Linked DNA regions of Homo sapiens: all the other regions are linked to region 3. Evidence: promoter capture Hi-C in 16 types of primary human blood cells and fetal thymus (Javierre and others, 2016). All regions are on one chromosome and are shown on one strand. Each heading gives the region's core, a stretch centred on a gene start or on the middle of the fragment in contact. The rest is flanking DNA. Distances are from core to core; before and after follow the strand shown. Region 1 overlaps PSMB2 (proteasome 20S subunit beta 2). Region 2 overlaps KIAA0319L (KIAA0319 like). Region 3 holds the start of CLSPN-AS1 (CLSPN antisense RNA 1).

The links. Contacts are between HindIII fragments. The CHiCAGO score rates a contact against its expected background, and 5 or more counts as called.
Region 1: a contact is called between a fragment that was not itself captured here and the fragment with the promoter of CLSPN-AS1 in region 3, in 2 of 17 cell types (M1 macrophages and erythroblasts). The highest score is 5.4, in M1 macrophages.
Region 2: a fragment that was not itself captured here is called in contact with the fragment with the promoter of CLSPN-AS1 in region 3 in 1 of 17 cell types (naive B cells); the score reaches 5.7 in naive B cells.

The regions. Positions count from the first base shown.
Region 1 is chr1:35,609,361-35,612,683 of GRCh38, reverse strand. PSMB2 (proteasome 20S subunit beta 2) reads left to right here. Exons shown (of 6, transcript NM_002794.5): 4 at 3,276-3,323. Among named protein-coding and RNA genes, the nearest start is that of PSMB2, 31 kb to the left of the region's middle. The HindIII fragment of the contact is 3,690 bases long and covers 229-3,323 here.
Region 2 is chr1:35,532,283-35,535,515 of GRCh38, reverse strand. The region is part of intron 2 of KIAA0319L (KIAA0319 like); the gene reads left to right. Among named protein-coding and RNA genes, the nearest start is that of KIAA0319L, 24 kb to the left of the region's middle. The HindIII fragment of the contact is 856 bases long and covers 1,091-1,946 here.
Region 3 is chr1:35,737,414-35,740,918 of GRCh38, reverse strand. It overlaps CLSPN-AS1 (CLSPN antisense RNA 1), which reads right to left and starts at 1,474. Exons shown (of 2, transcript NR_199043.1): 1 at 1,406-1,474. It overlaps CLSPN (claspin), which reads left to right. Exons shown (of 25, transcript NM_022111.4): 19 at 1,390-1,554; 20 at 1,662-1,783; 21 at 2,337-2,464; 22 at 2,822-2,927; 23 at 3,498-3,505. RefSeq lists enhancers at 1,181-2,380, 2,124-2,625. The HindIII fragment of the contact is 7,776 bases long and covers 1-3,031 here.

The DNA of each region.
Region 1 (3,323 bases), core at 824-3,323, 130 kb after region 3:
GTAAAAGACTGTATTATTAATTCTCTTGGGGAGGGATACCAGTTTCTCTTTGCTATTCTGCCTCTTTTCCTCCCTCTTTCTCTCTTCTAATTTTAACTGTAAGAACACCAAGGTATTCTATGTCTGCCAGATTTTGCAGTACTGTTTTCACACTTATATATAACTAATAGCATTTTTAAAATCTGTAGCTAATTTAAGCAGGTTTGTTGTTGTTTAAAGTGATAAGCTTTCAAAAAGAGACTGGGATGTAGTTATGTAGTAGGAATTTTGGTAGCATCTTTTCTTCCAGAGTTTGGGTTGTTTTACCGTTATTATTTTTTCTCATTATATTTCCTAGAAGATAGAAAGGAGAAAGATTAATTAACCCAGTTTTACATGTTAAAAAAAAAAAAACCCAGAAGCTCATAGGGGTTAAGTTTTTTGCCTAAGGTCAGCTTTACTAAGAAGGTACTCAGAATGCACAGAGAATTCCAGAGCTTGGCAGAGTGCCGCACGCTACTCATTGGGAAATACAATAGGCAGATAATTATTTTCTCAGAAGTCTTGACTGCTGGTCAACTTATTTCTCTCTGGGACTACCCACTGTCCTATCACTAAAACAGAAACTTATTTGGAGGTGAGGACTACTCTGTAATCTCCAGGCGATGTTAGGAACCCTTTCTACTTAGCACAGCTGGCTTAGAATTCCAAGTAAGTATATAATATGAGTTTCATGCTAGGCACGGTGGCTCAAGACTGTCATCCCAGCACTTTGGGAGGCCAAGGTGGAAGGATTACTTGAGCCTAGAAGTTGAAGGCCAGCCTGGGCAACATAGTGAGACCCCATCTCTCTCTCTCTCTCTCTCCTTTTTTTTTTGGAGATAGAGTCTTGCTCTATTGCCCAGGCTGGAGTGGTGCAGTAGCACTATCTCGGCTCACTGCAGCCTCTGCCTCCCAGGTTCAGGCGATTCTCATGCCTCAGCCTCCCAAGTAGCTGGGATTATAGGCTCGTGCCACCACGCATGGCTAATTTTTGTATTTTTCGTAGAGACAATATTTCACCATGTTGGCCAGGCTGGTCTCAAACTCCTAACCTCAAGTAATCTGCCCGCCTCGGCCTCCCAAAGTGCTGGGATTACAGGCATGAGCCACCGTGCCCGGCCAAGACTTCATCTCTTAAAAAAATAATAATAAATCAGCAGGGCATGGTGGTAGGTGCCTATAGTCGTAGCTGCTCAGGAGGCTGAGGTGGGAAATTCACTTGAGCCTAGGAGTTTGAGGCTGCAGCGAGCTATGATTGCACCACTGCACTCCAGCCTGGGCGACAGAACAAAAGCCTGTTACTCCCCTCCCAACCCCTCCCCCCAAAAAAAGCAAAAACCATGAGTTTTTTAAGGCTGCCAAGTGGCCGTGTTAATCAGTGTTCAAAGAATGTTAAATGCCACTTTTAGGACCATTAGCTATTACACTTCATGCTTCATAATGAGGTGTCTCACTTACTGTGCGTTTAATTAAATACATAGACAAATTTAGGGATGGGGACATATCCATGGGCAAGGCCTGCTTACTACCCGCTGAAGCAAAGGCAAGAGGAGAAACACATCCTGCAGAGAAAAAGAAAGCCATATAAAATGGAAGTCCCACCCCTGATGCCTGGGGGCATAGACAGACTGAATTTAACATGGTAAATGGCGCAGCTGGTGTAGAAAAAAAAAATCATCCATTTGGAGATGAAGAGCAACGCAGACTCAGTCATGGTTCTCTATAAAACTTATGTTTTTAGATTTGCAGGTAATACAAAGAAAGGATACCTATAAATCCAAGTTATAATTATTTTTTGTTGCTTTTTATTTGTCTCAAAATTACTTTTCAGTTAAGTCTGGTGATTTGATTTAAATATTTGAGACTTATGGCCGGGCGCAGTGGCTCACGCCTGTAATCCCAGCACTTTGGGAGGCCGAGGCGGGCGGATCACGAGGTCAGGAGTTCGAGACCAACCTGGCCAACATGATGAAGCCCTGTCTCTACTAAAAATACGAAAATTAGCCGGGTGTGGTGGAGGGCGCCTGTCATCCCAGCTACTTGGGAGGCTGAGGCAGGAGAATCGCTTGAACCTGGGAGGTAGAGGTTGCGGTGAGCCAAGATCGCACCATTGCTCTCCAGCCTGGGGGACAAGAGCCAGACTCCGTCTCAAAAAAACAAAAAAACAACAACAAAGAAAGAGACTTACTATCCCTCCCTACCTCATGAGTTGTTTCTTTTCTCTCTCTTTCTCTTTTTTTTTGAACCCAGGCTGGAGTTCAGTGGCACAGTCATGGCTCATGGTAGCCCTGACCTCCTTGGTTCAAGTGATCCTCCCACCTTAGCCTCCTGAGTAGCTGGGACCACAGGTGCGCGCCATCATGCCCGGCTAATTTTTTAGTTTTTTTGTAGAAACCAAGTCCCACTGTGTTACCTAGGCTGGTCTGAAACTCCTGGGCTCAAGCAAGCCTCCCACCTCAGCTTCCCAAAGTGCTGAGATTATACCTGTGAGCTACTGTGCCCAGCTATAAGTTGTTTCTTTAGTAGTGGGCATGCAGTTTACCATTTGGGATTGGTCCAGATGCCCAGACTGAGTTTGTTTATTTCATTTGATGTGGTTGGAGCATCTGCTTTTTTCAGTCAGTGGCCTGGCATTCTCAGAATTGTTCGTTGGTTTCAACAATTAGGAATGACAAAAGAGCACCTATGCTTTGCCTTTGCAGTGCTTGCAAAATTTTTTTTTATTTTAAATTTTTGTGCGTTCATCGTATGTGTGTATATATATATTGGGTATATGGGATATTTTGATACAGGCATACAATGTGTAATAATCACATCAGGGTAAATGGGGTATCTCTCACCTCAATCATTTCTCCTTTGTGTGACAGACAACCCAATTATACTCTTTTAGTTATTTTAAAATATACAGTTAAGCTATTATTAACTATAGTCACTCTGTTTTGCTATCAAATACTTTTTGAAGAAGTGCTTTTATACAGGTTCTCATCCATAGACTTTAAGAAGATGGCAGCTTTTTCATATACCTTAAAGTGCTCCAAATGCCCTTCCTTTCAAAGAGAACAAGCTGACGTCCCTTGACCTGTTACCATACTCCAGGTCCTCTAGATTTCCCTACATTTTTACTTTCATTGTGATTTACTCAGTTGCTGCTAATATTTTCTTTCTCATGAAGAGTCAGAATATTCTCATTTGCCATGGGAAGAGATGTTGGTGTTCTGCTTTAGTTATCACTTTGCCATATCTTTTCTTTGCAGACCCCATATCATGTGAACCTCCTCCTGGCTGGCTATGATGAGCATGAA
Region 2 (3,233 bases), core at 269-2,768, 210 kb after region 3:
CCAAGATGACACAGTTAGGAAGTGACTGGGTTGAGATTCAAATGCAGGAATCTCAGCTTTAGGAACTAAAGCTTTAACCACAGATTTTTGGGGTGGGGGCCAAAAGATAGAAGAGAGCAATTGTGGAATAGGGCTGTTGATCTTGATAGGGGATTTTGTTTGAAAACAAATTTCAACTCAATGTTATGAGGGACATGTATGAACATTACCTTGGGGAATGAATTTATTTTCTCACCTAGACTAAATGAGGGTGGTTTTCATATTTTCTTTAGCCTGTGAAGTATAAGTATTCTGTTTCAAGTAGGTAGAGTAAAAGGACTTTCCCCTACTCTTCTGCCTATAAATATTGCCCTCTTCTAGGGAGATGTTCTGGTACTGGGTACTGTTATTCTTTTTTTTTTTTTTTTTTTTTTTTTTTTAAGACGGAGTCTTGCTGTGTCTTCCAGGCTAGAGTGCAGTGGTGTGATCTTGGCTCACTGCAACCTCCATCTCCTGGGTTCAAGCGATTCTCCTGTCTCAGCCTCCTAAGTAGCTGGGATTACAGGCATGCGCCACCACAGCTGGCTGATTTTTTGACTGCCATGTTGGTCAGGCTGGTCTCGAACTCCTGACCTTGTGATTGTTTTTCTTTCTTTTTTTTTTTTTTTTTTTTTTTTTGAGACGGAGTCTCGCTCTGTCACCCAGGCTGGAGTGTAGTGGCCCGATCTCGTCTCACTGCAAGCTCTGCCTCCCAGGTTCACACCATTCTCCTGCCTCAGCCTCCTGAGTAGCTGGGATTACAGGTGCCTGCCACCACGCCCGGCTAATTTTTTGTATTTTTAGTAGAGATGGGGTTTCACTGTGTTAGCCAGGAAGTTCTCGATTTCCTGACCTCGTGATCCACCTGCCTCGGCCTTCCAAAGTGCTGGGATTACAGGCATGAGCCACTGCGCCCGGCCACCGATTGTTATTCTTTTCAACAGTTTGTCACAATCCAGTATCTTTGAGGCTTTTTAGTGACAGTGTTATAGGAAAGGACTTGCTGTTGTAAGCATTCTTAACCAGCAAAGTACTGCAAGATTCAGGTTTTGTGATTGAGTCCTTGGAAGCTTGTTTTCCATCTAGCAGATAATCAAGAGTTAGTGTGAATAGTAGCTGATATGTATCTGTTGGGCAAGTAGTTCCATGAGGAGTTTGTTTTTGTTCAGAATGATCTTTAGGAAAAATGGAAATACCACGGTGAAGGGAAAGAAGTCAGAATATGTACACAAAGCCTATTAATTCTTGTGTAGCAGTTAGTGTAGTTTCAGCAAATCATCTACACCATACATTTAAAAAACTGTACTCTTAGCAAAGCTAGGCACATAGCAAAGGCAGTGAGTAGTAATTATTTTCAAAGGACTGCTTTGTGAGGCAGCTGCCACCTTTCAATCCAACCTGTGTGTAGTTGAGGAAAAAAATGTTACCCCTTTTGAAAAGGAGGAGAGAGGGCAATGGTTATTACCTTGGCTTTTTTCAAACTTCGTAATACCTGATTGTGTCCTTCAAAGGATTTAGTTACCTCCTCTGCCTTGTTTCTGAATGTGCTAACCCCTGCAGGGTAGAACTGATGTGGAGAGTAAGGTGGAACCATTTTTTTTGTATTTGTTTATTAGTGGGTGTGCAGGTGACAGACATGCTGACAGTCAAAAGGGAGGTGGAGGGTGCCCCCTGAGGAGGTTTGTTTTTGAACGGTTCCTGTGAGTTGTTTTTGGGATTGATAATGTGCCTGCTTATCTCATTTTCATGTGGCAGCCATCTTGGCTGAGACCCATTGCTTCTGAGAGAATGCATACTTTTGATGATAGCTGTAGGAAGACAGATGGTGTAGAGCCATAGTTCAATTACTGAATAAAGAGACAAATTTAAGGCTGTGCCTTTCTCCTTGATAATAGTTCATTTATAGGTATAATTATCAAGGGAAAGCTTTGAATGAAGTCTTGACCATATTAGAAAATTGTGAGATTTCAAGAAAAGAATTTTAGCTTCAATGACGGTAAATATTAATTGCAAATTTTTTCTACAGAATACTCTAACCATGTATTTGTTTCTGCAGCGAAAACCCCACCGAAGAGAAGAATTTATCAACTGCTTTTTTTTTCTTTTTTGAAATAATACTGGTAGCTCATTCTCTCTACTCTTATTTCCACCATCACAGCCTTTCCTTTGGGATACAGTCTGATGAATTTAGTTAGAATTTACATTTCTGGACACTAACAGTATGACTCCTGAAACAGGGGACGTTCTGTCTCTGCTCCCTACTTGGTTGCTAACCAGGGCAGTTTTCAAGTTTGCTTGAGAAGCCAAGCTTATTACCTGAGATTTAAGAATGCCAGAGCCAACAGCACTGTCTTTAAATATTTCCAGAGTTGTTCACAGCTTTCTAAAAGTATTTAATGAATTTCCTTCTGGCAATAATTCATATATCCTGTAGACTTTTCCACTCTGCTACTTGGAATTATGAAACCTGGTCTAGATTTTGTGCCAGATATATTAGAATTCTGTCTTTTGAGAGGTGGTGATGTAAGTAAGCATTGCTAGTTCCAGAGCCTCCTGTTTTGGGGATCCTCCAGGTAATACATATGGGAGCACTGCTTTCTCTGCTTTGCTATGATTTTAGAAAGAGGGGAATTGGCTTTGCTCCACTGTTCTCACCCTGGGTAAGCTTTCTACATGCTCCTACCAACAGTGCATTCCAGACTTTCCCAAAAGATTTTCAGTCTAAGGTTCTACCAACTGTAAGCCATTTTTTGTAAAGATTTAATATTGCTTTTGCCTGGGCCCTGGGAGCAGAGCCAGGGTATGGCAGCGTGGGCAGGGAGAGGAACTGATCTAAAATTGGAGTATATTTTCATCTTACCTTTTATCCCAGTTACTTCTAGAATCCAATATTGACTCTACCAATGCCTTTCTGCTTCCTCCTTTTATGAACTCTTTGTCCCAAGAGTATCAACACTGAAAATTTAATCTTAAGTTAAATTATTCTTCAAAGGTTAACTATCTGGTAAATGATGGACCTAGAGCTGAAACTAGAATCATTTAAGATGTTAACTGTCTTTTAACCACCTAAGACAAAGAACTATGATTCAGGGAATGGATGAAAAAGAACTGTTTTTTTCTTTTCGTATTTTTATTATTGAACACATGATGTAACAACATTAAATAACATTTAATTTTTAAAAACTCAGTCAAAATCCCACGAATTAAACATGTGA
Region 3 (3,505 bases), core at 225-2,724:
ATAGATTTTTCTAAGGTAGTGGTTCTTCTCTGCAGAGCTCTTTGTTCAAATAAAATCTTTTAAAGAATGACAGATAAAAGTTGAACTGTTCAAAGATGGTAAGTGGGAAGTTTGGGAAACTTAGTGACTAGTGGCCTCTGAAGGAATTTTCCAGGAACTCTAGGATTTAGAACAACTTAGCTTTAAGAAAATACAGTATAGGCTGGGCGTGGTGGCTCATGCCTGTAATCCCAGCACTTTGGGAGGCTGAGATGGACAGATCCCCTGAGGTCAGGAGTTCAAGACCACCCTGGCCAACATGGTGAAACCCTATCTCTACTAAAAAAACAAAAATTAGCCAGGCATGGTGGCACGCACCTGTAATCCCAGCTACTCGGGAGGTTGAGGCATGAGAATCACTTGAACCCAGGAGGTGGAGGTTGCAGTGAGCCGAGATGGCATCTCTGCACTCCAGCCTAGGCGACAGAGCGACACTTCATCTCAAAAAAAAAAAAAAAGAGAAAATACAGTATAGGTCTTCGATAAAAATCAGTTTTCAGAAAGCCACCAAACTTCTGCCATTTTGGACCACATGGGACCAAGGTGACTTTGAATCCAGGGTGACACCAGATTTATTCTCCGGGGGAGCTGAAGTCATAAGAAGTAACTAGTCGTTTTGATTACCAGGAGCTCTGAGCCTTAGTCTTCCTTCTGATGTGGGGGTCAAGATTTGTTAGGCTGTAAGAAGATCCCAGTTTATTACCTTTCTACACCACACCATCTCTAGTTTGTCTCTTAAAGCTGGTGTGCTCAAATGCAAAATGAAATAGTTTGAACCTTCCAGCAGGTATTCTAATACATGTAAAAGAGATTAAGAGTTTTCTGGCTTTCAAATCACCCAATCTAAGTTGAATCCAGGCTCTGCTACCTTCTAGCTATGTGACCTTGGGTAAATGTAATCTTTCTGAGGCTCAATTCCCTCAACTGTAAAATGAAGAGAATAATAGTACCCATTCCTATGATAATATGTTAATGCCTGTAAAGCACAGTTATTAGCACACAAGACATATTAAGTGATCAACTTTTAAATACAGATGCTCCACATCTTACAATGGGACTATATCCTGATCAATCCATCATAAGTTGAAAATGCACTTTCATATTATCCAGATATAACTCCATCGTAAATCGAGAAGCATACTAAGTGCGTATCACATTCATGTCATCGTAAAGTTGAAAAATCATTAAGTCAAACCATCATAAGTGGAGACTATTACAAAAAAATTTAAATATTATCAAATGTATTATGTTTATTATTATTAGAAGTGACTCTGTTCTGCTTTTCTTTGCTTCCATATTCTGTGAGTATATTCATTGTTGCATTTTCTAATCCTCAAAATTGCTTTCTAGGAGGTTGAGGAAATACCTGGAGGATGAGGCAGAGGTGTCAGGAAGTGATGTGGGAAGCGAAGATGAGTATGATGGGGAAGAAATTGATGAATATGAAGAGGACGTAATTGATGAAGTACTTCCTTCTGATGAGGAACTGCAGAGTCAAATCAAGAAAATACACATGTCAGTATCCCAATAAGCCCTTCTGAGTAATAGGGTACATCTTAAGACAAGCCCTGTAACCAGCCAGAATGGTCCTTGTTTTGAACACCTTATTTCTCCTGTTGCAGGAAAACTATGTTGGATGATGATAAGCGACAGCTACGTTTATACCAAGAGAGGTACCTTGCTGATGGGGATCTGCACAGCGATGGTCCTGGGCGAATGAGGAAGTTTCGATGGAAAAACATAGGTATCTTGGTTGTTGTCTTTAAAAGCAATCAGTTACGGGCTGAGCATGGTGGCTCACGCCTGTAATCCCAACACTTTGGGAGGCAGAGGCAGGTGGATCACAAGGTCAGGAGTTCAGGACCAGCCTGAACAACATGGTGAAACCCCGTCCCTACTAAAAGTTCAAAAATTAGCAGGCTGTGATGGCACGCGCCTGTAATCCCAGCTACTCAGGAGGCTGAGGCAGGAGAATTGCGTGAACCCGGGAGACGGAGGTTGCAGTGAGCAGAGATCATGCCATTGCACTCCAGCCTGGGCGACAGAGCGAGACTCCATCTCAAAAAAAAAAAAAAAAAAGCAAACAGTTACAATGCATATTTGTCGAGTTTCAGATGGCAAATGGCAAGCAAAACTATAACAGGCTATGTGAAGACCTAGTTGTAACTGTTTTCTGTTAATGGATGGGAAAAGTTTACATCATTATATAGTAAATGATAAGGGTTTATTTTTTGTCTGTCCAAGCACCCTCTCCTGTGAGGACTGCCGAATGCTGATTACCTTCACTCTTTGTTTAGATGATGCTTCCCAGATGGACTTGTTCCACAGAGACTCTGATGATGATCAGACTGAAGAACAGCTTGATGAGTCAGAAGCCAGGTGGAGGAAGGAGCGAATTGAACGAGAGCAGTGGCTTCGGGACATGGTAGGAGTTCACCTACTCTGACCCTAGTTTATGAGACTGTCCCTTAGCTTGTCATGATAGTTTCAAAATCTTAGCTTGTCATGATAGTTTCAAAATCTTAGGCAACATATTGCTATCTCTTTTAATCCTTGAGCTATCTTTTGTGTTTTGAGAAGGCTATACCATAGACAGTTCTCTTCATGTTTGTCTAAGATTAATTTTTTTTTGTCTAAAGCAGCAAAGGCTGCAAAAAGGAAAACAAATACCCCAGGAACTCTAGTTTCACAATCCAGGCCATGCTAACTATTTAGGAAGGTTATAGACTTTTAATGCTGTATATATATATATATATATATATATATTTTTTTTTTTTTTCAGGCACAGCAGGGGAAAATTACAGCTGAAGAAGAAGAAGAAATTGGGGAGGACAGTCAGTTTATGATACTGGCCAAGAAAGTTACAGCCAAAGCACTGCAGAAGAATGGTGAGCTCTTGTTTCTCCTTAGGGTCTAGCCCCCTGGATTGTTAGTGGTAGAGCTTTGGAGGTGACTCTAACCTTCAGGAGCTGTTGCAGCTTAATCATAAGCTTGTGTCTAATACTGTCTTAAAGAGGCTTCACAGAGGTGGTGGGAGACAGTGTACTTAGATCTTAGACTATTGGGCAGTAGAGACTGTATTCATGAGTATATGTGGCTGGTTTTACTTTATGTTCTAAGGCTCAGAGTAGTTAATTCTGGCTTTCTCTAGTTGCCCAGGATTGTATACCTAAGTGTTAGAGGTAGGATTTGAATCCAGGAATATTTAACTCCAGAAATGAAGCTCTTCACTATTCCCTACACTGACCACTTCTGTTTTTCTTAAATGATTACTGTTCAACTTAGTTGTGTCTCTTCTTGGAGCCAATTATTATAGTTTGAAAGTCACCATTATATAGAACAGAGTTCCCATGGCTTTAGCATATTGATTTAGTTACAAGATTTCTTAGCTTGTTTAGATTTAAAAGTAATTCTAATCAGCTTTTCCCAGAATAGGCCTCTCTGTCTTTTCTTTCCAGCCAGTCGC